6 separate regions of the Homo sapiens genome follow, and regions 2, 3, 4, 5 and 6 are each linked to region 1. The links are contacts of gene promoters, found by promoter capture Hi-C in blood cells and fetal thymus (Javierre and others, 2016). All regions are on one chromosome and are shown on one strand. Each heading gives the region's core, a stretch centred on a gene start or on the middle of the fragment in contact. The rest is flanking DNA. Distances are from core to core; before and after follow the strand shown.

Region 1 (3,779 bases), core at 651-3,150:
TGTTTATAGCAGCATAATTCGCAATTGCAAAAACGTGGAACCAACCCAAATGTCCATCAATCAATGAGTGGATAAAGAAGCTGTGAGATATATATATATATACACATATATATGTGTATATATATGTGTATATATACATATATATGTATATATATATATACACATATATATATGTGTATATATATATATGTATATATATATGGAATACTACTCAGCCATAAAAAGGAATGAATTAATGGCTTTTGCAGCGACCTGGATGAGATTGGAGACTAATATTCTAAGTGAAGTAACTCAGGAATGGAAAACCAAACATTGTATGTTCTCACTCATAAGTGGGAGCTTAGCTATGATGGATACAAAGGCATATGAATGATACAATGAACTTTGGGGTCTTGGAGGAAAAGGGTGGGAAGGGCTTGAGAGATAAAAGACTACAAATAGGGTACAGTGTATACTGCTCGAGTGATGGATGCACCAAAATCTCTCAAATCACCACTAAAGAACTTACTCATCTAACCAAACAGCACCTGTTCCCCAATAACCTATGGAAATAAAAAAAAAATTATAAAAAAATCTGTATAGGCATGTTAAAAAAAGGAAGGACAGAAATACCATTCAACTCAGCAATCCCATTACTGGGTATATACCCAAAGGAACATAAATTATTGTTTTATTAAAGACACATGCACACATATGTTAACTCCAGCACTATTTACAATAACAAAGACATGGAATCAACCTAACTACCCATTAATGATAGAATGGATAAAGAAAATGTGGTACATATACACCATGGAATACTATGCAACCATAAAAAATAATGAGATCATGTCCTTTGCAGGGACATGGATGGAGCTGGAGCCTATTATCCTTAGCAAACTAACACAAGAACAGAAAACCAAATGCTGCATGTTCTCACTTATAAGTGGGAGCTAAATGATGAGAACACATGGACACATAGTGGGGAACAACACACACTGGAGCCTACTGCAGAGTGCATGGTGTGAGAAGGGAGAGGATCAGGAAAGACAACTAGTGGGTACTAGGCTTAATACCTGGGCGATGAAATAATCTTTACAACAAGCCCCCATGACAGAAGTTAACCTATGTAACAAACCTGCACATATATCCCTGAACTTAAAAGTTAAAAAAAAAAAAAGATTCTTGTATCCCATCTCGGATCTACAGAATCACAATCTCAAAAATGAGCCGTAAGAACCTGCATTTTAACAAGCTCTACAATTATTGTGGTACATACTGATGTTTGAAAAGTACTGCCCTAGACACTCTTACCTCAGGCCGTTATAGTGAGTCCATACACTTAAAAATAAGCGTCTTTCCAAGTACTTTAAAGATTCAAAATGATAGTGGATCTGAAATGCCGCCTGAGTCCCCATGACAACGTGTACACTGTGGGGCCCAACCAATAAAGATAAGAAAAGCTTTGGCGGTCAAGCATACTTGGGAAGCTGCAGTTTCTAGAACAGTCTAGTAGAGGACAGCCTCTTCAGCAGCCTGCTAGGCATTTTTTTACTTCTTCCTTCTGTTATGCAGACAAGCTAACTGAAGATGCGGTTACTGAGATATAATTTCTCTGCTAGGTCACAAAGTCTGAAAACATGGGCCTTACGTGTGTAACTGTGTATCATCACCTGCCACCCCCAGTTTTTCCTGGCTCTACTAATCACCCAAAGTTCTGAATGCAGAAGCCCCAGGGGCCCCCGGAAGATCCTTCAAGCTGGCATCCTTGGCCTCGCTGCGGGGGCTTAGCTACCTGTGGGAACCCACGTAGCAAGGGTGACTCAAAGGGTTAACAAGCAGTGGCGCCGCAGAGTGGCGGGGAGTGCAGCCAATAGGGTGTCTAGGCAGGCAGTACGTCTGGTGTGGGCGGGAGTGAGCCAAAGTGTGCTAAAGGAAACCAACAGCGGCCTAGGGGTGAAAGGACAGCCAGGGTTAGATGTTCTGAGGAGGCGGGAGCAACCGAGAGAGCACGTGAGCATCTGTCCTTTCTACCCGTTCCTCTTTATCTTTAGTGTTCAGTAGCAGCGGGGATAGCCCGGGGCCCGGTGTATGGCCACGGAGTTACAGTGTCCGGACTCCATGCCCTGTCACAACCAGCAAGTAAACTCTGCCTCAACCCCAAGTCCCGAGCAGCTGCGACCTGGCGATCTGATCCTGGACCACGCAGGGGGAAACAGAGCCTCCAGGGCCAAGGTGATTCTCCTCACGGGGTACGCCCATTCTAGCCTGCCGGCCGAGCTGGACTCTGGGGCCTGCGGCGGCTCCAGCCTCAACTCAGAGGGCAACAGTGGTAGTGGTGACAGTAGCAGCTATGACGCACCAGCTGGCAACTCCTTCCTAGAGGACTGCGAACTCTCCCGGCAGATCGGGGCGCAGCTTAAGCTGCTGCCTATGAATGATCAGATACGGGAGCTACAGACCATCATCCGTGACAAGTAAGCCAAGAGCGGAAGGGGAAAGGGAAGTGGAGGGTCTTGCAGGCTGTGGGCGGGGATTGGAAGTAAAAGGGCTAAGAGACAGTGTTCTTGGCCTTGGCAAACTTTGGAGATTGGGGTAAGACCTTTTATTTGGTGTGTGTGTGTGTGTGTGTGTGTGTGTGTGTGTGTGTGTGTCGTGTAACTCGAACGCCAACCTTCTCTTTCCAAGTTCCGGTGTCTAACATCACTTTGGGTGGGGAGGAAGACTTTAGGTAGCCTCTGGGCTCTTTGTCTCTCCCAGGAAAGACAACTCCTTGGCCATTCCAGGCAGGTAAACTCCCCTATACTATGTGGGCAGTGCTTGTCCACATGGTAAACCTATAACCCAGAAATGGTTACTATCCAAGGTTATGCACTACCACCAATCACCTCAGGTTCATAAATAGAAATAAAGCAATTTCAAGGAAATTCTATTCAGGCCCTGACCCTTTAGTATTTGCTACTGCAAACAAGGTCTTTTAGTCTTGGAGTTCAGGTTTACTTGATCACATGAAAGCTTATCGTCCAACTCTTATCATTTTTCACTGTAAACTCACAGAACATAGTTAATGGATCAAAGGGAGCCTAAAGGAGCCTTTGGCCCTTCCTAATCCCACAAACCAATGTAGCCAGAACTTCATGTTAAAATGTAATTTTGAAATTTCTAAACCTACGTTGTAAATGGGTTTTCTCCAGGGAAATATGTACCATGATGAACTACAGCTATTTTCTTTATTGGCAGCACTTTAAATGAGCAGCATATCAAAACACCCCTTTTTTAGTGGCAGGGGTTGGGGGGACATGCCTTGATCTTTTAAAAATGGCTACTGAATGACAGATGCCACTCCCTAAACCAGACTCTAGAAACCTTGTCTTACACTATTGTAATAATACTGTTTCTCTGCTTGCAGTTTTTCCTCTCTTCCACATGCACCCATACATTACTGTACAATCAATCTTCATAACATACATCTTTGATTCAGTAATTGCCCTACTCAGCAACCTTCTTTGGCTTCTCAGAGCCTACCAAATAAAGTCCAGGATCCTTAGCTTGATTGATATTTTTGAGACAGGATCTTTCTCTGTCACCCAGGCTGGAGTGCAGTGGTGAGATCACAGCTTACTGTACCCTCATACTTCTGGGCTCAAGTAATCCTCCTGCCTTAGCCTCCTGAGTAGCTGGGACTACAGGGACATGGCACTGCCCCCCGGCTAATTTTTTATTTTTTTGTAGAGATGGAGGTCTTGCTATATTGTCCACGATGGTCTTGAACTCCTGGCCTCAAGCAATCCTCGTGCCTC
Region 2 (3,779 bases), core at 952-3,451, 980 kb after region 1:
TCTTCTGTAGCACTGAGATTGGCAATTTGCATACATGGGTGTAATCAGTAGGATGGAACCAGAAATTTTGAGTACTGCATGTGTTTGGGCATTCTCGACAAAACTGAGTGGATTTATCTTGCAGTGTCCCTTGAGGAAAGGTAATACTTGGAGGTTTGGGAAATACTGGTTGATGTTGGACCTGGCTGTGGGGGTATGTTTGGTAGATCTGTTGGCTAGAGTCTATGGTGATAGTGACATTATAGACTGTACTGGGAAGAGCACTTACATCCATTCCATTTTCCTTTTTGATTATGACACAAATAGGGGCTGTCCCCACTAAGGTGATATTAGTAAAGAGGGGCTCAAAAATGGGAGACTTCTCACAGGTATCAGGGAAATCTTGCTTTACTTTTGTAAGAAGCCTATTTGAAGACCTGATTATTCCTTTTAGATTACGATGCCATTGATACAAAATGTGTAGTTCTGCCTCTATTCTCATCCAATCTCTGGGCGACACAGGATAAGTTATCTCTGGTGTTTTAGAAGAAGAGCTAGTGCATAACCAGCAGTTGTTGGAGTAAGGAAATTCTGTGCTTTGAAGCAACTGTAGTGCTTTTTCCAATTAAGAAAAATCAAGATGGTACTGTGCTGCTAGTAAAGAGGTGAAAATGAGAATTAGCAGGAGTGGGCCCATGGTGCCATAATGAGATTGTGAAAAAGAGAAATTAGTAACAAATCAAGTTGTAAAGGGAATTGCCCGAAAGTAAGTTAAGGTGAAGAAAAATTAGCAACAAAGTAGTTTCTCTTGGGACTTTGGGGGGGCATACAGGTTAGGGTTAAAATAAGGTGAATAAGTGATGCTATTGCAAACAGTATTCCTAATATTGGAATTATATTACTTTGAGGTGAAAGGATCTGCGGAGGCATTGGTTATCTTTCCATCTAAAGAGGAATTTCAGATCCTTCAATTGTTCACAATGTATTCTGGAGTTGAAGTCGTTGGATTCAGTTCCAGTGTTTAAGGGCCTTTCCAATACTTCACTCAGGTGTAGTGTATCCAGCTGCTAATCTCTGTTACTTTAATGGCCGTGAGGGTAGAAATAGAAAATGCAACAGTAAAGGGTCTCTCTTTGACTGGAGTTAGTTGGGAATTTGGGGTTCTATTCTTCCAAGCTTTGAGGAGAACCAGTGAGTTTGGAGGATATAGAGGTGGAGATTTTTTCTCTTCTAATTTTGTGTTTGTTTTTAACCCATATTCCTGGAGGGCTTGATGGAGGTCTGCTAGAAAAGAGACATACTGGTTGATTTTAGCAGTTTCTTCATCTAGCAGTAAGTCAGAATACAGGAATGGCCTAACATATAAGGCCTTGAAGGGGCTTAATTGCAAAGGGGTCTGAGAGGCAACACAAATCTGAAGGAGAACTAAAGGTAAGAGGTCCACCCATGTCTGTACTGTTTCCTGACAGAGTTTATTGAGGATGTGTTTGAGGGTTTAGCTAGTTCTTTTCAGGTTCCCTGAAGATGGTGGTCTCCAGGCAAAGTGAAGGTACCCTTTTATGCCTAGGCAGAACTGACCTGCTGATTCGTTTGGGAAATTAAGGATGGACCATCGTCTATTTGCGGTGACCTAGGAAGCCTGAATTGGGGAATGAGTTCCCTTAGGAGGAATTAGCTGCCTCTTGTGTCTTTTCAGTCCTTGTGGGATAGGCCTGTACCCATCCTGTGAAGGTGTCTACACAGACCAAGAAGTACTTATGCCCGCAGCATGTGGTGAGCTGAGTATAGTGCAACTGCCAGTCCTCCCCAGGGTATGTACCTGTCCTTTGGGTTGGACTTGGGGGCTTCCCTCTTTGGGGATTACTTATGATGCACAAGTTGAAAGGTTGACAAACATGTTGAATAGTTTTGTTTATTCTCTTCCTATCTACTTGATATAGTTTGGATCTGTGTCTTAACCAAATATCATGTCAAATTGTTGCAGATGAGGCCTGGTGGGAGGTTGTTGAATTATGGGGGTGGATCCTTCATGAATTGTTTAGCATCATCCTCTTGGTGGTGTTCTTGTGAAAGGTAGCTAGCCTTTTTGTACAGCCTGTAGAAGTATGAGACAATTAAACCTCTTTTCTTTATAAATTACCCAGTCTCAGGCATTTCTTCACAGCAATGCAAGAATGGAATAATACACTACTAAACATTAATTTACATATTTGCCGTAGATTGTCCTTTTCAACGTGGCAGGAGTTGTGTGAACTCGTGATGACCTTCTACCCTTGGGAGGCCCTTGGTAGATGGAGAAGTTCCCCAAGTTTGTACCATTTATTGGTTTCTTTTTGATACCTACGTTGGGTGGTTCAATTTATTTCTTCCTGAGTGTATTGGAGAGGGGATAATTCAGTGGGGAGCAATGGGAGTAAGGCCCCAGGTAAGTATCCTTTGAGACAGCTGCCTCTTTAGTTTGGGGTTGGTCATCCTATTTTCTTGTGCAGTTTCATTGGAGCCCCTCTGGTGTCTCTCACAGGGTACTACTGCCACCTCCTGGGTCAAGTGAACAGCATCTAGTAGATCTAAGATTTGGGATCTGTACTGCCCTTGTCAACGTGATGAGTTCCACTAGTTGTGCTGAGGTCCCCACGGGACAGAGCTTTTATCTCTATGACTTGGGAAAGGGACACTATAAAGTACCCTGCATGTCTAGCTCTATTCCAGATAAAACTACTCCCATCTGAAAATCATATTTTGTTTGGATTGTCCAGAAGCTGATCCTCTAAGTCCTCCAAGCTGGCATAAATTTGGTTAAGTATTTCACAGCATAAATGTGCCAGGTTATTGTTTCCTGGTAGTGGAAGTAAGGTTGGCTGAGTTGAGGATGGAGTACCGCTAAACTGTTACCTGTGGGTTTTCTAGTAACAGGCCCTGGTACTTCAACAGTTTGTTGTCAGTGAACCATTGTGGCCCTTTTATGTTCAATAAGGGGCCTGTATGGTGTGATGGCAGGATCTGGATTAACTGTCCCATGGTGATTTTGAGGGCCTCCTAGTATAGGAGCCCTGCTGCACTCACTATCTTGAGGCAGTGTGGTCACCCTCATGCAACTGGGTCTAGGTTCGTTGAAAAGGTACCTACTGGAGATTTGATTAGCCCTATGGTTTGAATTAGGACTCCTAAGGCTACAACTTGTCTTTCAGTAACAAAAAGCTGAAATGGTTTGGTTAGTATGGGTGGTCCAAGGGCTAGAACTTGTGAGAGGGCAGTTTTTAGCTGCCTAAAAGCTTGCTCCTGATATTTTCCCCAGAAAAGCGAGTTTCTATTAGTCATTTTTTTTAAGTCTGATTAAGGACTTAACAATTCTATCATACCCCGGTATCCAAAGTCTGCAATATCCTGTGATTCCCAGAAAGGCCTGAAGTAGCTTTTGGGTGGTTGGGGTAGGTATTTTAAGGATGACCTATATTCATTCTGGGGAGAATTTAGGATCTCCACAGGTCAGGATTATCCCCAGGCATTGGACCTCTTGTCTTAGTAGTTGTGACTTGGATAGTTGGACACTTCATACCCTCTGGGTATTTAACCTCTTGTCTTAGTAGTTGTGACTTGGACACTTGGACACTTGGACACTTCATACCCTCTGCCTGCAAGGAAATTTAGTGTTTGAACTAGATGCTGGATTCCCAGCTCATTCATAGATTAATAGGTTAATAGGCTATTTACATAATCTATTATGCAGATTAACAGGTTATTTATGTAACATAGGAGAAAGGCAGTCTAGGCCACAAGGCCTGCAACTCTTAGATGAGTAC
Region 3 (3,779 bases), core at 404-2,903, 880 kb after region 1:
TGAGATACTATTTCTTTTCTATCAGATAACTCTTTGATTTGGGGACTAAAAAGGGTACTAGAAAATGACATCCTTAGGAAGTAATATCCGGGAAGCTCAGCTTGGCCAACTACGTAACACTGTGGCTATTTGAGGAAAGTGGTGATTTTGAAGAGAGGACTACATTGCCTTCTCAGGTGTGTCTCCTTTGCCCAGCTCCCATGGGATCAAATATGAATCCAGTGAGGGCTGCAAGTTATATTTATGAGTTCAGAAACAGTGCAAGTCACTTGGCACAGCCTAAATAACTCCATCTGAAAGCAGTTGGTCAGTGCAACTGGTGGGCCGGTGGTCAAAACAAAGGTTACTCTTGTGCCACCAGCACCAAGGAGCCATTCTTAGAGATGTCTGGTTATTCCTTGGTCCAGAGCCCTGAATTATCCTGTAGATGTGTCTGAATCAGAACAGAGTAAATACCAAGTTAGCAGGAAAAGCTCATCACTACTCTCATTCCTATCTCTCCTCTGGCTGCTCACCTAGTGAGCTCTGCAGCAATATGCTTAGTAGCCCCAGCCAGGGTGTGATGGCCACCAATGTTATCACCAGGCTTAGACAGAGGAAGGCTTGATGTTATATTCTGACATACAGTGCCATATCCTTACCTGAGAATGGAATGGAATGACAAAGGAGATCTGAATTATGGGTGTGAGAAAAGTTTCAGACAATTCTGAGTGAAAAATTAGTCCAATTCCTAAATGACCAAATTGTTCTGATTAGTTAGAAAAAAAGCACAACGGAGGCAGAAACTTTTCTACATTTCTAGCTGAGAAAATTTAAAGATGGGGCTTGAATTACCAAGTGTTAATAGTATTTAAAAATGTTTTATGTTTCTATGAAAAATTGCTCTGTGACTATAAGAAAGTAAAACAAGAAAGAAGGAAGAAAGGAAGCATTGAGACAGAGTAAACAAAGCCAATGAAGGGAAGGAGAAAACAGGGACGATATATAGAGAAAAAGCATGGGCTCAGTTCATTTTCCTCTTTAAAATCCAGAGCTACCTGCCTCTAAAGTTCAAAGTCTTGTCTATAACATCCTGGTGTTGTGCTTTCTGAGTGGGGCTTTCAGAACTTCCCTTGGGGAAAGCCTATGATGCACTGCAAAGAGATGGGCATGTCTGAGGTCAGTGCACATCCAGTGTGATAGCCCCAACTCACCACAGTATCAAGGAGTTGCAGCTGGACCCACAAGTACTAGGGCTAACATATGCCTATTTCTCCCCCATGCTCAACCTAGGTATCTCCCTTAGCAGATGTGGAGCAAAATAACCTTTGCAGAAAATAATCTTAGAGCTTAAACCTGAGCTATGTCTGGAAAGTCCATGGCATTCTGAATAATCTATAATTTACTGAGCATTTGCTGTATTCTAGTCCCTGTGCTAAGAGCTCATACATTCATGTCTTATATAATTCCATCATTGAAATAAGCACATAAGTCAAATGTGTCTGTAATCTTCACTTTCAAAGTGAAGAAGCCAAGACTCTGCATTTAAGAGACTTGCCTAAGTTCACATAGATAATAAAACTCAGTTACCTCCGAAATAAAAGATGACATAACTTTAACCACAAACCATCATGGCCCTGAAACTATGAGAGTAAGGTTGGTAACTTCCAAGGAGGAGGTGAATTTAAATCTATCCTGATTCCAGATCATTTGTACTGCCCCTGGTATAGTTGGAGAGGTGTCACTCTTTTTCTTTTTCTTTTCTCTCTCTCTCTCTCTTTTTTTTTTTTTTTTTTTTTTTGAGATTGGGTCTCACTCTGTCACCCAGGCTGAAGTGCAGTGGCATGATCTTGGTTCACTGCAACCTCCACCTCCCAGGCTCAGGTGATCCTCCCGCCTCAGCCTCCCACGTAGCTGGAACCACCACGCCCAGCTAATTTTTTGTATTGTTAGTAGAGACGGAGTTTTGCCCTGTTGCCCAGGCTGGTCTCGAACTCCTGAGCTCAAGCGATCCACCCATCCTGGCCTCCCAAACTGCTGGGATTACAGGCATGAACCACCACACCCGACCCACTCTTTTTCTTAAATGCATTCATGCACATGCATATGTACATATGTGCACACACATACTCATATACTAACACAGACTGGTATGGGACAGTCTGAGTCTTATGTGATCCATACTCAGCAGTTAACAATAATTATTTCTGTACCCTTACCTATGGAAGACATTCAATCAAAAGTGGCAATTGCTAAGGTTTTCATGGGAACTTAATGTGTCAGGAGATTTTAACCTTAACCTTAAGATGTATTCACTTCAGGAGTCAAGCGCCTTCCAGCATGGTCACAGGATAGTTTTCATGTCTTTGTCTTCCAGTAATGCTTTGAATGTATTGTCATTAATCCATTCATGCAACAAAAAGTCATGGCACTCCTCTAATATGTGTCAGCCACTGTGCTATTCCTTGGAATCACTATCATTATAATTACTACTGTCTTTTTTTTTTTTTTGGTAATGGTCAGTTTTAGTATAACAATATATCTCACTAGGATGAGTGCATTATAAGAGGGTACTGTGCATTTTTCATCACTACATGTCTAGGTCTTAGACACATATGGACATAGCTCTGAGTAGGCGATCAACAAATATGGGGGATTAAATGACAAATTTCATGGGGTATATAGCGTATGTAAGAAATAAGGAACACTGGAGCCCTGGCTGGCAAGATGGCCAAATAAGAACACCTCCAGTCTGCAGCTCCCAGCGAGATCAATGCAGAAGGTGGGTGATTTTTACATTTCCCACTAAGGTACCCAGTTCATCTCACTGGGACTGGTTGAACAGTGGGTGCAGCCCAAGGAGGGTGAGCCAAAGCAGAGTGGGGTGTTGCCTCACCAGGGAAGCGCAAGGGGTCCGGGAGCTCCCTCTCCTAGCCAAGGGAAGTCATTAGGGACTGTACTTTGCACTTAGGCCCAGATACTGTGCTTTTCCCACAGTCTTGGCAACCCACAGACCAGGAGATTCACTCTGGTGCCCACACCACCAAGGCCCTGGGTTTCCAGCACAAAACTGGGCGGCCATTTGGGCAGACACTGAGCTAGCCGCAGAAGTTTTTCATACCCCAGTGGCACCTGGAACGCCAGCAAGACAGAACCGTTCACTCCCCTGGAAAGGGGGCTGAAGCCAGGGATCCAAGTGGTCTGGCTCGGTGGGTCCTACCCCCACGGAACCCAGCAAGCTAAGATCCACTGGCTTGAAATTCTCGCTGCTACCACAGCAGTCTGAGCTCGACCTGGGATGCTCCAGCTTGGTGGGGGGAAGGGCGTCTGCCATTGCTGACGCCTGAGTAGATGGTTTCACCCTCACAGTGTAAACAAAGCCGCCTAGAAATTCCATCTGGGCAGAGCCCACCACACCTCACTCAGCAAGGCCACTGCAGCCAGACTGCCTCTCCAGATTCCCTCCTCTCTGGGCAGGGCATCTCTGAAAACAAGGCAGCAGCCCCATTCAGGGACTTATAGATAAAACACCCACCTCCCTGAGACAGAGCACCTGGGGGAAGGGGCGGTTGGGGGCACAGCTTCAGCAGACTTAAACGTCCCTACCTGGCAGCTCTGAAGAGAGCAGCGGATTTCCCAGCACAGTGTTCGAGCTCTGATAAGGGACAGACTACCTCCTCAAGTGGGTCCCTGACCCCCATGTATCCTGACTAGGAGGCACCTCACAGTAGGAGCACCACCTCAAACAGGAGAGCTCTGGCTGGCATCTGGCAGGTGTCCCTCTAGGAAGAAGCTTACAG
Region 4 (3,779 bases), core at 466-2,965, 860 kb after region 1:
GCCTCAGCCTCCCCAGCAGCTGGGACTACAGGCGCACACCGTCAAGCCCGGCTATTTTTTTTGTATTTTTAGTAGAGACGGGGTTTCACCGTGTTAGCCAGGATGGTCTCGTTCTCCTGACCTCATGATCCGCTCGCCTCGGCCTCCCAAAGTGCTGGGATTACAGGCGTGAGCCACCGCCCCGGGCTGATTGTCTTTTTAAAATAAAACTTACCGAAAAGGTAATATATTTCATGTATCAAAAACCAAATAGAAGAAGCATAAAGTATCTATTCCAGCTTAATCTCCCATCTCCCCAGTTCCCACCTTCTCCACCCACACAGTTAACTATTTTTATTCATTTCTTCTGTAAACTTTGTGTGTGTTTACATAAGGAGATAGCCCCCACCCACTTTTTCATATAATTTGTAGCATACAATATACACTTTTTGTTTCTTTTCTTTTCTTTCTTTCTTTTTTTTTTTTTTTTTTTTAAGATGGAGTTTCCCTCTTGTTGCCCAGGCTGCAGTGCAGCGGAGCGATCTCGGCTCACCGCAATCTCTGCCTCCCGGGTTCAAGTGATTCGCCTCCCTCAGCCTCCCGATTAGCTGGGATTACAGGCATGCGCCACTATGCCTGGCTAATTTTGTATTTCTTTTTTTAGTAGAGACGGGGTTTCACCATGTTGGTTAGGCTGGTCTTGAACTCCCGACCTCAGGTGATCCACCCGCCTCGGCCTCCCAAAATACTGGGATTACAGGAGTGAGCCACAGCACTAGGCACAATATACACTTTTTAAGTCACTTAAAATATATCTCACTGGTCTTTCCATGTCAGTACATTGAACACTTCCTTGTTATTTTTTGTAGCTTCATTGTATGGTTGTACCATAATTTATTTAATGTGTTGCTCTGATGATAGACATTAAGGTTTTGCTCTTACAAACAATGCTTCAGTAAACAACCTGGCACATATTTTTTTAAAATATATACAAATACCGGCATGTCTGTGGGATAAATTTCCAGAGGTTAATTTGTTTTGTTAGAGCCTTATGCATTCATAAGTTGATAGACGCCCTAAATTGCCTTCAACATGTGTGCCAAATTATACTGTCACCAACAATGTGTCAAAATTTCCCATAGCCTTGCTAACAGTATTTTATCAATTTTTTGGGTGAATTTTTTTGTAATTACAATTGGTGAAAAAATAGTCACATATCTTTGATTTTTAGTAATGGGTTTCCAGCTTAAAATGGTCTTTAATAAGCAGTACTTGATGTTGCCTTTCTTGGCTTCTGACTAATATACAAAAGAAGATCCAGAAGAGGAGGAAAGCTTGCAGTAACTCTGAAAAGTAAGACTGAGAATGAACCCATTGCCAGAATATATGAAACATTCCCATAAATTCTAAATTGAGTGATGTAGTACCCAATTATTGAATACTCACTATATGTGGAGGAACGTATATCTGTCTGTGTACACACACACACACACACACACACACTTCATCATTTCTCCCTTGGAACTCTTCATAATGATCCTGTGAGGATGTGAAATTATGAGCCATATTTGACAAGTGAAGAAACTTTGTCTTGGAAAACTGAAGTGACTGACTTGCCTAAGGCCATGTAATAAGAGGCACATCTGAGGTTCAAACACAGGCATGCCAGACTCCAAACTATAATAGAACTCTTTTCAGTATTTCACATGCTTTATCCCTCTCACACTTTGATTCCTGGCTCAGCAACAGAAAAGTTATACCAGTCAGAAAATTTGCCATCTCCCTCAAAACTTTATTAGCACTGATATCTGAGGTAGTTCAAAACACCTTTCCTTTTTCTATTCCTTCCCACAGATAGTATCTTCCTTTCTATGTCAATAAAGAAACTAGAAGTTGGAAACTCAAAGTGTATGTGCAAGATAGGAGGCTAGATGTAGAAGTGACAATAGGGTTGCAGCTGGCAGCCCATTGCATTCTGGCAAGTGGAGAAGATAACCCAATATAATAATAATGGTTAATATAGATTGAGCTTTTACAGTGGTCAGGGACTTCGCTAAGTGTTTTCCAGGCATTAGTTTATTACAGCAGATTCTTGGGGTAGGTAATATTATTATTCCCTCATTCTAGATGAGGAAATGGAAGCTTGAATAAGTGAAATTACTTGCTGGGATGTTTGTAAAAAGATCTTTGCTCTGGAAGTCAGGAGGCTTCTGTGATACTGCTGCTAGTTTACTTTATAATTTTGTATAAGTGGCTGTCCCTTTCCTTGCTTCAGTGTCTGAACCTGGAATTTTTTATGCGGTTTTTGAGACTCTAAGTTCATTGGGGTGGAATTTGGAAGGGTGGTCAAGCATGAATAGGACTAGAAGGGAACACAAATATTTTTTGCTCAAGACATTAGTCTCAGCTGTACCTCCATATGTCTTTTCCCTGCTTTACCCCTTCCTACTTGTTCTCTTGCTCATGGCACTCATTCTCTTCCCTAGTTGTAGATTTAAGTTAAGTCCAGTAGGAACTTGACACACTCAGAAAATGGATGAAAACCCAAGGGGATGCTACTTTTGGGACCATTGTCTGAGCTTTTTTGGGTTACTGCCACCTGTCACAGTTTAAGAGATGTGGAGAGCCACTCATGGCTGTCAGAGGCTGTGTCAAGGAAACAATATTCTGGTAATGATTTTTATTTACCATGAGGGTTTGGTTTCCTCTTCTGGTGTCTACTTGGACTTCCCTAAGAATTAGTTACCTTGGTTCTTGGGCTTGGCATCAGCCCACAGAGCATGGAGCCAATCAAGTACCATAAGTCCTGCAGAGATTTAAATTTCCTGGTGGCAGCATTTCTGGCACAGGCTTATGTTTTCCTATGGTTACTTAAGCCCTTTATTAATGCACTCTGAGTTTCTCTCATGGTTTGGCTCCTCAAGAAGTCAGGCAGTAGCGTTCAAGGTATGGGGAAGGTATCAGGTCAAGACAGAAATATTTGGCAGCTTTAGGGATTTTCTGTTTCCACTCTTAAGGTGTGCCCTGAATAAGAGCTGTAGAAGAGTCATCTGGGGCTGACTTCTTTGAGGCCCCAAAGAGTCTGGCCTGGGCTTCAAGGAATCTGAGTCCTAGGGTATGCTCAGCCACGAACTCCCTGGGTGACCTTAGGCAGACAAATTCATTTCCCTGAATCTCTGTTTCCTCAAACATCTTCCATCTCAAACATTCTATAATTCATGAAAGCTGAATAGTACTGGAAATTCTTCTGCTCAGTATGATAATGATTTGAGCAGAGAAATGAACAGGCTGGGTAAAGTGTGACCTTCCCAGGGTACATAAAATGTTTTTCCAATTAAATGAACATTTCCTAAATCAGTTCCCAATTAGTGGAGCCAGTGTGTGTTAGCCTTGTGATGGGGCTGCATAAATAGCAATTCAGAATCCAGGAAGAAAGTGGCCAATAGGCCCACTCTGCTTCTTACCTGTCATAGCAAAAAAGGAGTATGGTGCTCAGAGCCGATCATCACATTTTAGAGAGGACACCATGAGGCTGGAGCTATTTCAGGGCCGTAGCTAAGGTGATGAGGGAACTCTGAACTGTGTCATATGAGGAAGAGCAGAATGGCCTGGGGATAAGTAACCAAGAGAAGACCTCCAGCAACATCTTGGCCCCTGGTTTTGGCTCCTATGGGGAAGAGGGTGTATTAGTTTGTTTTCTGTTGCCTATCAAAGAATGCCTGAAACTGGATAATTTATAAAGAGAAGGAATTTATCTCCTACAATTATAGAGGCTGAGAAGTCCAAGTTTGGGGGCTGTA
Region 5 (3,779 bases), core at 640-3,139, 740 kb before region 1:
TGCGTGAAACCCCTTATCACTACTGGTGGAAGAGATTAAACACAGTACACACGCATGGATCCATTCTGCGGGATGGATTTTCCATGGTGGTATATCTGTTTCAATAGGATTTTATTTCAGACAGCAGGGATCCTTCCAGCGGGGTGGAGAGAAAAATGAGTTTGGCTTTCTGACAGTTCCACTGATCTAGTATCCTCTCACTCTCTCCACAGGCAAGTGATTATTTGCAAGGTAGTTGGGTAGGAAGAGAAGAGAAAGCAGGCTCTGGTTTTATTAAAACCTAGGGACATCCTCCTCCTCCTCTGCTGGCTTCTGAACTGAGCCTGTAGAAGATATTTGATTAAAGTAATACCCCAGAATTAAGCCAGTGAGGCTCACCTTCAGCAGGAAAAGTGTTGACTTGCCATCTTTCAGCACTCCTGGTTTTCTCCCTCCATTTTCCCAGAAGGGCACTGTTGGTATCCCAGGGAACGAGGAACAGAAAACCAATGACAAGAGAACTCCAATTTCTTTTCTTTTCTCTTTTTTTTTTTTTTTTTTTTGAGACAGAGTCTTGCTCTGTCACCAGGCTGGAGTGCAGTGGTGCAATCTTGGCTATCTCAGCTCATTGCAACCTCTGCCTGCTGGGTTCAAACGATTCTCCTGCCTCAGTCTCCCGAGTAGCTGGGAGTACAGGTGCGTGCCACCACACCCAGCTAATTTTTTGTATTTTTAGTAGAGACGGGGTTTCACTGTGTTAGTCAGGATGGTCTCGATCTCCTGACTTCGTGATCCACCTGCCTCAGCCTCCCAAAGTGCTGGGATTACAGGCGTGAGCCACCACACCCGGCAACTCCATTTCTTTTCTGTAGGATTTATTGTAAACATTGATTCACGCATTAGCTTCTCCTAGGCTGGTCAAATGAGTTAATTCAACAAATATTCTTCGAACACAAATTATGTGCAAGGTGATATGAGGGCACTGTGTGACAGTGGCAAAAGCTTTCACTCAGGCTTCTGGGCAACAGCCACACTACCCATTGGGGGAAGGGGGCCTCTACTCACCCCCTGATCCAAACAGTGCCCCAGAATCCACATTTCTTTCCAATTTGCTTAACTCCTGAGTAAGCAAAAGGCCAAGGGCCTTTTTGCCTTTTCTGAATACTGTTTCTGGGCTCTGAGGTACTACGAGGTACCACATATTAGCTTCTGGAAGTGAGTAGGGAAGGCCTTGCATCCCATGTCAAACATATCCTTGGTTTGGCAGCTTGGAGAAACCCAGAGGGGACAACCATATATGTAACTGAAAGGAACACGTATAGCCTCTTGCTAGGACAAATGGAACTTCAGAGAAGGGTCACTTCAGAGAAAAGGAAAATAAAAACTCATCTGAAATGTACCACAGGAACCATTTGTGGGGGCAGGGGGCGGGGGTAGGAGGCTGGGAAATATCACTGTGGACCAAGACAACACTTGGCCATCTTCTGTGGATTTCTTTTAAACTAGGTTTCCTCCTAACTCCGTAACTAGGTGTGACTAGATCTTAGATTGATGAAAGTCATAAATGGAGAAACTTTAAGAGAAGCTTCATTAGCTTCTTTCATAATGAGCATTCGCTCAAGGGCCTGCAGCCCCAATGCCTTGAAGTTGAGGGAGCTCCTGAGTTAAGGCAATACACGCCAAGATTATCTGGATAGGCACTGTGATGGCCCCTAGAACGGGCTGAGAGTACCTTTGGACAGTAGGGCAAAGCTGAGCTTGACTTGTCTCTCTTGACTGTTTCAGGCCTACTCCGCAACTGTTTTGGGGACTACCATGTGGCCTTCTACTTTGCCGGTGTGCCCCCCATCATCGGGGCTGTAATCCTCTTCTTCGTCCCTCTGATGCATCAAAGGATGTTCAAGAAAGAGCAGAGAGATTCCAGCAAGGATAAGATGTTGGCCCCTGACCCAGACCCCAATGGGGAGCTACTGCCGGGCTCCCCCAACCCTGAGGAACCAATCTAATGCCTTTCTTGCCATTGTGTGCCCTTTCCCAGCTCTTCCCCTTCATCCCACCCTGCTCAGCATTTACATTTTTGCCACCAGCACACTTGTTCCCAGACCTGCGCACACAGCATTTCAGCCACCTGACAATCTCCTTGGAGTCAAAGCTCCAGGTGTTCCAAACTCATTAACTAAATTCTCCCCAGAATGCTTTTAAATTTTCCAGGGCCTTTCTCCTCCCAGGATCTGGGAAAGCTTGGGAACCACCCCTGGCCTTTGGAACCTCTCCATATACTTTCTAAGCTCTGGGGGAGGAGGAGGATGGGACCTCCTGGACCCAGCTTGTTAGTCACCCACTATAATCAACTGCCAAAGGTGCTACTGTGTCCCCAGGAGCCTAATAGGGTAGGCCCAAATCTCTGTTTGCTGAGGAGGTCATTGCCATCCATATTTGGGAGCCACTGGGTGGAGGGGCAGGGAGGCAAAATGAGACAAGTAGCCTTGGTTAGTCTTAGAGTTGCTGATGACTGTGGCTTCCCAAGAACTGGGTACAAGCAGTGCCCTTATTGTATGGTTGGTTAACAGTCTGCTCCCCTCTTCCCTTCCTTCTTTTTTTCCTCTACTGACTTCTCTCCATACTCTTTCCCCTCTATTTCTTTGTATGACTGTCATAGACACATGGGTGCTTGAAGAAAGGAGGGACCCGGAACTTGGGCCAATCAGCCTCACCTTGTCCCAGTCCACTCCTAACACTAGCATCAGTCCCACTCATCTCAGGCTGAGCCACATCTCACTTTTTCGCTCAAGCTATATAATCCTAGACTGGAAGAGTAGAATATCATATAGGGAAGAAACCTTAAACACCACAGTGTTCCATGTTCCAGTCACTGATTTTTACAAATCTTACAGTCCAAGGCATTAACCTCAAGGCCCTCCCAGCACCCCATTCTTGTATACACATGGCAAAATGTGAAGAAACTCCTTTCATCTCAGCAGGTAGAGGAGGACTGATGACACGAGCTGCCATGGCGGGAGGAGGGGCAGTAGTTATTGATATGGTGAGCCCCATCTCTCAGTTTTCATGACAGGTCTATATTTCTACCTGGGCCAGGCCAGGAAAGAGACTATTTAAGAAAAAAAAAATCAATTCCTAGCCTGGATCCCAAAAAGGTACAGGCAGCAGTTGCACATAGGGTTGGAAAATTTCTTTTGGGAAGGGGAAGCCATCCCAGCCTTTACCACCCAATGTGTCTCCCATGCTGGGCATCCTAGGCCACTTTGCTTAGAGGGCATTAAAGGTGCCATGAAAGGTAGACTCTGAACCACTTTGATCCCTCTGAAGTAGGTGACTGATGCCTCCTTATGCCCAGGCTCTGGCAACAGTCTTACTGAAGAACATTCCCAGTGCCCCTGGCTAGGGGCAGAGGGCACTGCCAGGCTGTGTTCAGTTAGCACAGCTCACCTCATTAGGAGCTCAGCCTCTCTCCTCACTCTGCCTCTTTGTGTCTCTTTTTCTCCTCTCTGAGCCTTTGTCTATTGTGTTCCTGTCACCCACCCTTTCATCATCTTTTTGCCAGGCATTCCTGGCTGTCACTTGGAGCCAACAGTAACTTGCCACCTTAAGGCAGGGTCATCCCCGGGCCAGGAGGATGAGGTTGTCCTGAGGGGCTCCAAAGAAGACAATAGTTCCCACTCATGATTTTCCGTTACAAACAGGCAGCTGGGGCATGGTTGGCCTCCAATGATTTCATTCAAGGCCAAAGTCCTGAGCCCCCTCCGCTGGTCCCAGTCCAGCTCTTATCAACTCCCCAAAGG
Region 6 (3,779 bases), core at 682-3,181, 700 kb before region 1:
CTCTGCAGATGAGTCAGGCTCCATGGACACTCACCTGCAGCCCTAAAAATCCTTAGACTTTGCTGGGATCCAGAGGGAATGTGGCTATGAAATCACCATCAGATTCACCCCAACAATTAGTGGCATGAAAGAGAGATGAAGTAGGACTGTAAGATGGACCTAATTATCTAGAATAGAGAAACAATGTATGCTATCAAAACAAGCAGAAAAGGAGCTAATTTCCATGTAGCTTGGCCTTCTATGCTGTAGTTAGTCATTGTCTTTCCTTTAGCTCCCACAGCTGCCCCAGAACTTGTGCACCTATGTCTGAAACCCAGAACTAAGAACCTGGACACCAAGATTGGGACCCCATATCCCCACAATAACTGGAAACAGCTAATCCAGTCTCCCATTTGCCTGCCACCAATTGTCTCAGGATGACTTATAATGTAGACGTGCCTGGATCTAGGCAGCTGGATTGGGTGACTGGGCATATTAGCTGTTCCAAAATATATGTTAAATTTACTTGTTGAATTTAGGTTACCCATCAGTAAAATCACTAACAAGTAAAGAAATCACCAAGTGGCATCTAATGAAAAGGATCTGTGTAATCAGCTCTTTAAAAAATTAAGAACTCAGCTGTCCCTTTTCTTCATTATCTGGGCAACCCTTATCCCTACAGTTATTAGCGAAACAAAACAACAATGCTGGCCCAGTTATCAGGGAGAAGCTTGTTTTGTCTCATTTGTGATATTGGGTCCTAGCTGCTAATTTTCTCAGCGATGGCAGAAAAAGGTAATTCAGGTCGGCTGTGGTGGCTCACGCCTGTAATCCTAGCACTTTGGGATGCCAAGGTGGAAGGATTGCTTGAGCTCAGGAGTTTGAGAGCAGCCTGGGCAAAAGGGCAAGACCCTGTCTTAATTTTTTTTTTAAAAAAGGTCATTCAAACCAGATTAGACTAAAATAACACAAAGAGCCACATCACTGTTTATATGAATCTCACAAGCTGAGTTTCTTAGGAAAGGAAGGAAACCTGGAAAGAGAAGTCAAAAGCCTACAGCAAGGCAGAGCTGTCTCCAGGGTACTGGGTACTCAGCTTCCCTGCACTTCCACCTGGGGAAGGAAAGGATAGGTATGGGAAAGTCTTCTGCTGTGGTGTCATGCAGTGGCCCTAGTCAGATCTGTCTTCTAGCCCTGATTTTGCCACTTAGTAGTATTTAAGTAAGAGCACTTCACTCCTACCATTAAGACTCTCCAACAGCTTCTCATCTCAGAATGAAATTCTATCTCCCTTCCTTGGACTATACAACCCTTATGAACTGGCCCTGCCTTAACTTGTACTGCTTCCCCAGTTCAACACTGCCCCTTTTCCTCCTTCCAGATAATGAGCTGAGTCCATTCCCTGGAGTTGGAAGGTTCTGCCTCCATCTATTCATTCAGGTCTCAGCTTGTGATCACCTCCTCAGGTCTTCTCCAACCACCCTATCACATCTCAGTCACAATCACATCACCCCATCTACTTTGCTTCCCAGCATTAAAGCAGTATCTGAATTTGTATTTACAAAAATATTATCTGCCTATCCCTATTAGAACGTAACCTTCTGCCGGGCGTGATGGCTCACGCCTGTAATCCCAGTGCTTTGGGAGGCTCAGGTGGGCAGATCACAAGGTCAGGAGATCGAGACCATCCTGGCTAACACAGTGAAACCCCGTCTCTACTAAAAATACAAAAAATTAGCCAGGTGTGGTGGCGGGCACCTGTAGTCCCAGCTACTCGGGAGGCTGAGGCAGGAGAATGGCGTGAACCCAGGAGGCGGAGCTTGCAGTGAGCCGAGATAGCGCCATTGCACTCCAGCCTGGGCGACAGAGCGAGACTCCGCCTCAAAAAACAAACAAACAAACAAACAAACAAAAACAAAGAAAGAATGTAACCTCCATGATGGCAGGGGTCTTGGTCTTGTTGACCACAGTACCCCTTGTACTTGGAACAGTGCTTGAGACATAGATTCCTAGTATTTTTTTTTGTAAAGACAGGCTCTCACTATGTGGCATAGGATGGTCTTGAACTCCTGGCGTCAAGCAATTTTCCCACTTTCGCCCCCCAAAGTGTTGCCATTACAGGCATGAGCCACTGTGCCCAGCTAAAATATTTTCTTGAATGATCAATACTGGCAGTGGGACCCGGAGCATGTCACTTAACCTCTGATTCTGTTATAAAATGCAAATATCCAATTGCCCCCAAATTGTTATGAATAACATATTAAGAGGACAAATGTAAAAAGGCCAGGCAGCTAGTAAGTATTCAACATATTTTGGTATATGACCTACTCATCAATCTGTAACCATCTCTCTATCTCCCCCTCCCTTTCAAGGCCACACTGGCAGTTCATGTTAACCTTTCAGTGGGAGCAAAGAGTGTGTAGTAGAGTGGTGGTGACTGGAGAGGGTGGGTGGTATAAATTGCAGTATACTTTCTTGTGAGTCTCATGGTACCTCTTTGGAACACTTATAGGTAGATATTTGAGTCATCCACAAAGACGTCAGAGTCAGGAACCTAGCCCACTCATTTCTAGGCTTTGGTTTATAAGCTGGTATTTTTGAACAGGAAATAAGGCCTAAGCCAGGTCTAGTTTATATATGCTGGGCAGTTAACCTATAAGGTATTCAAAATCAAACATACCGGCAAGGTGCGGTGGCTCATGCCTGTAATCCCAGCACTTTGGGAGGCTGAGGCCGGTGGATCACCTGATGTCAGGAGTTCGAGACCAGCCTGGCCAACATGACAAAACCCCGTCTCTACTAAAAATACAAAAATTACCCTGATGTGGTGGTGTGGGCCTGTAATCCCAGTGATTTGGGAGGCTGAGGCATGAGAATCGCTTGAACCCAAGAGGTGGAGGTTGCAGTGAGCCAAGATCGCAAAACTGCACTCCAGCCTGGGCAACAGAGTGAGACTCTCTCAAAAAAAAAAAAAAAAAAACAAAACAAAATCAAACATACCAATAACAATACTGAAGGGAACACCTTGGGGTGGGATAGAAGCAAAGAACAAAATGTCCTCTCCAGCTTTTTTTTCTCTGCAGGTGGTTTTGACCTGTCTTTAAAAGACAGAGAAAGGGTTCAGTCAGGGCCCATGTCTATACAAGGGCTATTAAACAGCACTTATACTAAAATGAAGCTTGGAATGTAATTTCTATTTAGCAGATTAGACTGATTTTCCTGTTTAAATATATAGATGCTTCTGGTCCCCAAAAGTGGGGAAAGGGGATTAATTCAGATGCTGAAGAAGATAACTTCTCAGTGCCTACTGCAGCAAGGCAAAAAAAAGATAGCTTCATTATTAGGGGAAGGTTTCTTTTCCATCAGAGCGATTGGGCAGAATTTGGGCTTAGTTGCTTGCTGAGTTGGTCTCTTGTTTTAGGAACAATCTTGTACCTTCGTGCCAACAGACACTGTTCCATTATTTTCTTTCTTCCAGGAAAGGGGAGGGCCAAGGCAAAACAATGAATGAATTTTCCTGAATTCTTGCCTTCAATCTAGATGGGGTTACACCCAAGATTATTAAAAAAAGAAATAAAAAGAAAAAAGAAAGGCTGAGTGATGTGCTTCTCTGGCATCTTCCAAGTTAGCAGCTGGATTCATGTACTACAGATAGGTTGGAGTCACCCACGCTAGAAACCAACATCTGTCCTCTACTACCAAGTAGGTTTTCAGATTATTTTGTTTGTTTGACATAGAGATAGGGTCTCACTATGTTGTCCAGGATGGTCTCAAACTCCTGGCCTCAAGTGACCCTCCTG

Evidence for each region. Contacts are between HindIII fragments. The CHiCAGO score rates a contact against its expected background, and 5 or more counts as called.
Region 2: a contact is called between a fragment that was not itself captured here and the fragment with the promoter of UPRT in region 1, in 2 of 17 cell types (total B cells and M0 macrophages). The highest score is 7.1, in total B cells.
Region 3: a fragment that was not itself captured here is called in contact with the fragment with the promoter of UPRT in region 1 in 3 of 17 cell types (naive CD8 T cells, total B cells and monocytes); the score reaches 8.1 in naive CD8 T cells.
Region 4: a fragment that was not itself captured here is called in contact with the fragment with the promoter of UPRT in region 1 in 8 of 17 cell types (fetal thymus, total B cells, activated CD4 T cells and 5 more); the score reaches 12.1 in fetal thymus.
Region 5: a contact is called between a fragment that was not itself captured here and the fragment with the promoter of UPRT in region 1, in 1 of 17 cell types (total B cells). The highest score is 5.5, in total B cells.
Region 6: a fragment that was not itself captured here is called in contact with the fragment with the promoter of UPRT in region 1 in 4 of 17 cell types (non-activated CD4 T cells, activated CD4 T cells, total CD4 T cells and 1 more); the score reaches 6.9 in non-activated CD4 T cells.

What each region holds. Positions count from the first base shown.
Region 1 is chrX:75,272,185-75,275,963 of GRCh38, forward strand. UPRT (uracil phosphoribosyltransferase homolog) reads left to right here and starts at 1,901. Exons shown (of 7, transcript NM_145052.4): 1 at 1,901-2,456. The coding sequence starts at 2,071. LOC124905200 (a long non-coding RNA gene) reads right to left here and starts at 1,852. Exons shown (of 4, transcript XR_007068269.1): 1 at 1,294-1,852. RefSeq lists enhancers at 1,792-1,841, 1,862-1,911, 2,072-2,281. The HindIII fragment of the contact is 1,552 bases long and covers 1,441-2,992 here.
Region 2 is chrX:76,251,121-76,254,899 of GRCh38, forward strand. It overlaps the pseudogene LOC100533728. Among named protein-coding and RNA genes, the nearest start is that of PBDC1, 80 kb to the left of the region's middle. The HindIII fragment of the contact is 2,096 bases long and covers 1,154-3,249 here.
Region 3 is chrX:76,156,330-76,160,108 of GRCh38, forward strand. No RefSeq gene overlaps it. Among named protein-coding and RNA genes, the nearest start is that of PBDC1, 15 kb to the right of the region's middle. The HindIII fragment of the contact is 4,234 bases long and covers 1-3,770 here.
Region 4 is chrX:76,135,441-76,139,219 of GRCh38, forward strand. No RefSeq gene overlaps it. Among named protein-coding and RNA genes, the nearest start is that of PBDC1, 36 kb to the right of the region's middle. The HindIII fragment of the contact is 808 bases long and covers 1,312-2,119 here.
Region 5 is chrX:74,529,569-74,533,347 of GRCh38, forward strand. SLC16A2 (solute carrier family 16 member 2) reads left to right here. Exons shown (of 6, transcript NM_006517.5): 6 at 1,765-3,779. The coding sequence ends at 1,985. Among named protein-coding and RNA genes, the nearest start is that of RLIM, 83 kb to the right of the region's middle. The HindIII fragment of the contact is 655 bases long and covers 1,563-2,217 here.
Region 6 is chrX:74,575,846-74,579,624 of GRCh38, forward strand. No RefSeq gene overlaps it. Among named protein-coding and RNA genes, the nearest start is that of RLIM, 37 kb to the right of the region's middle. The HindIII fragment of the contact is 2,448 bases long and covers 708-3,155 here.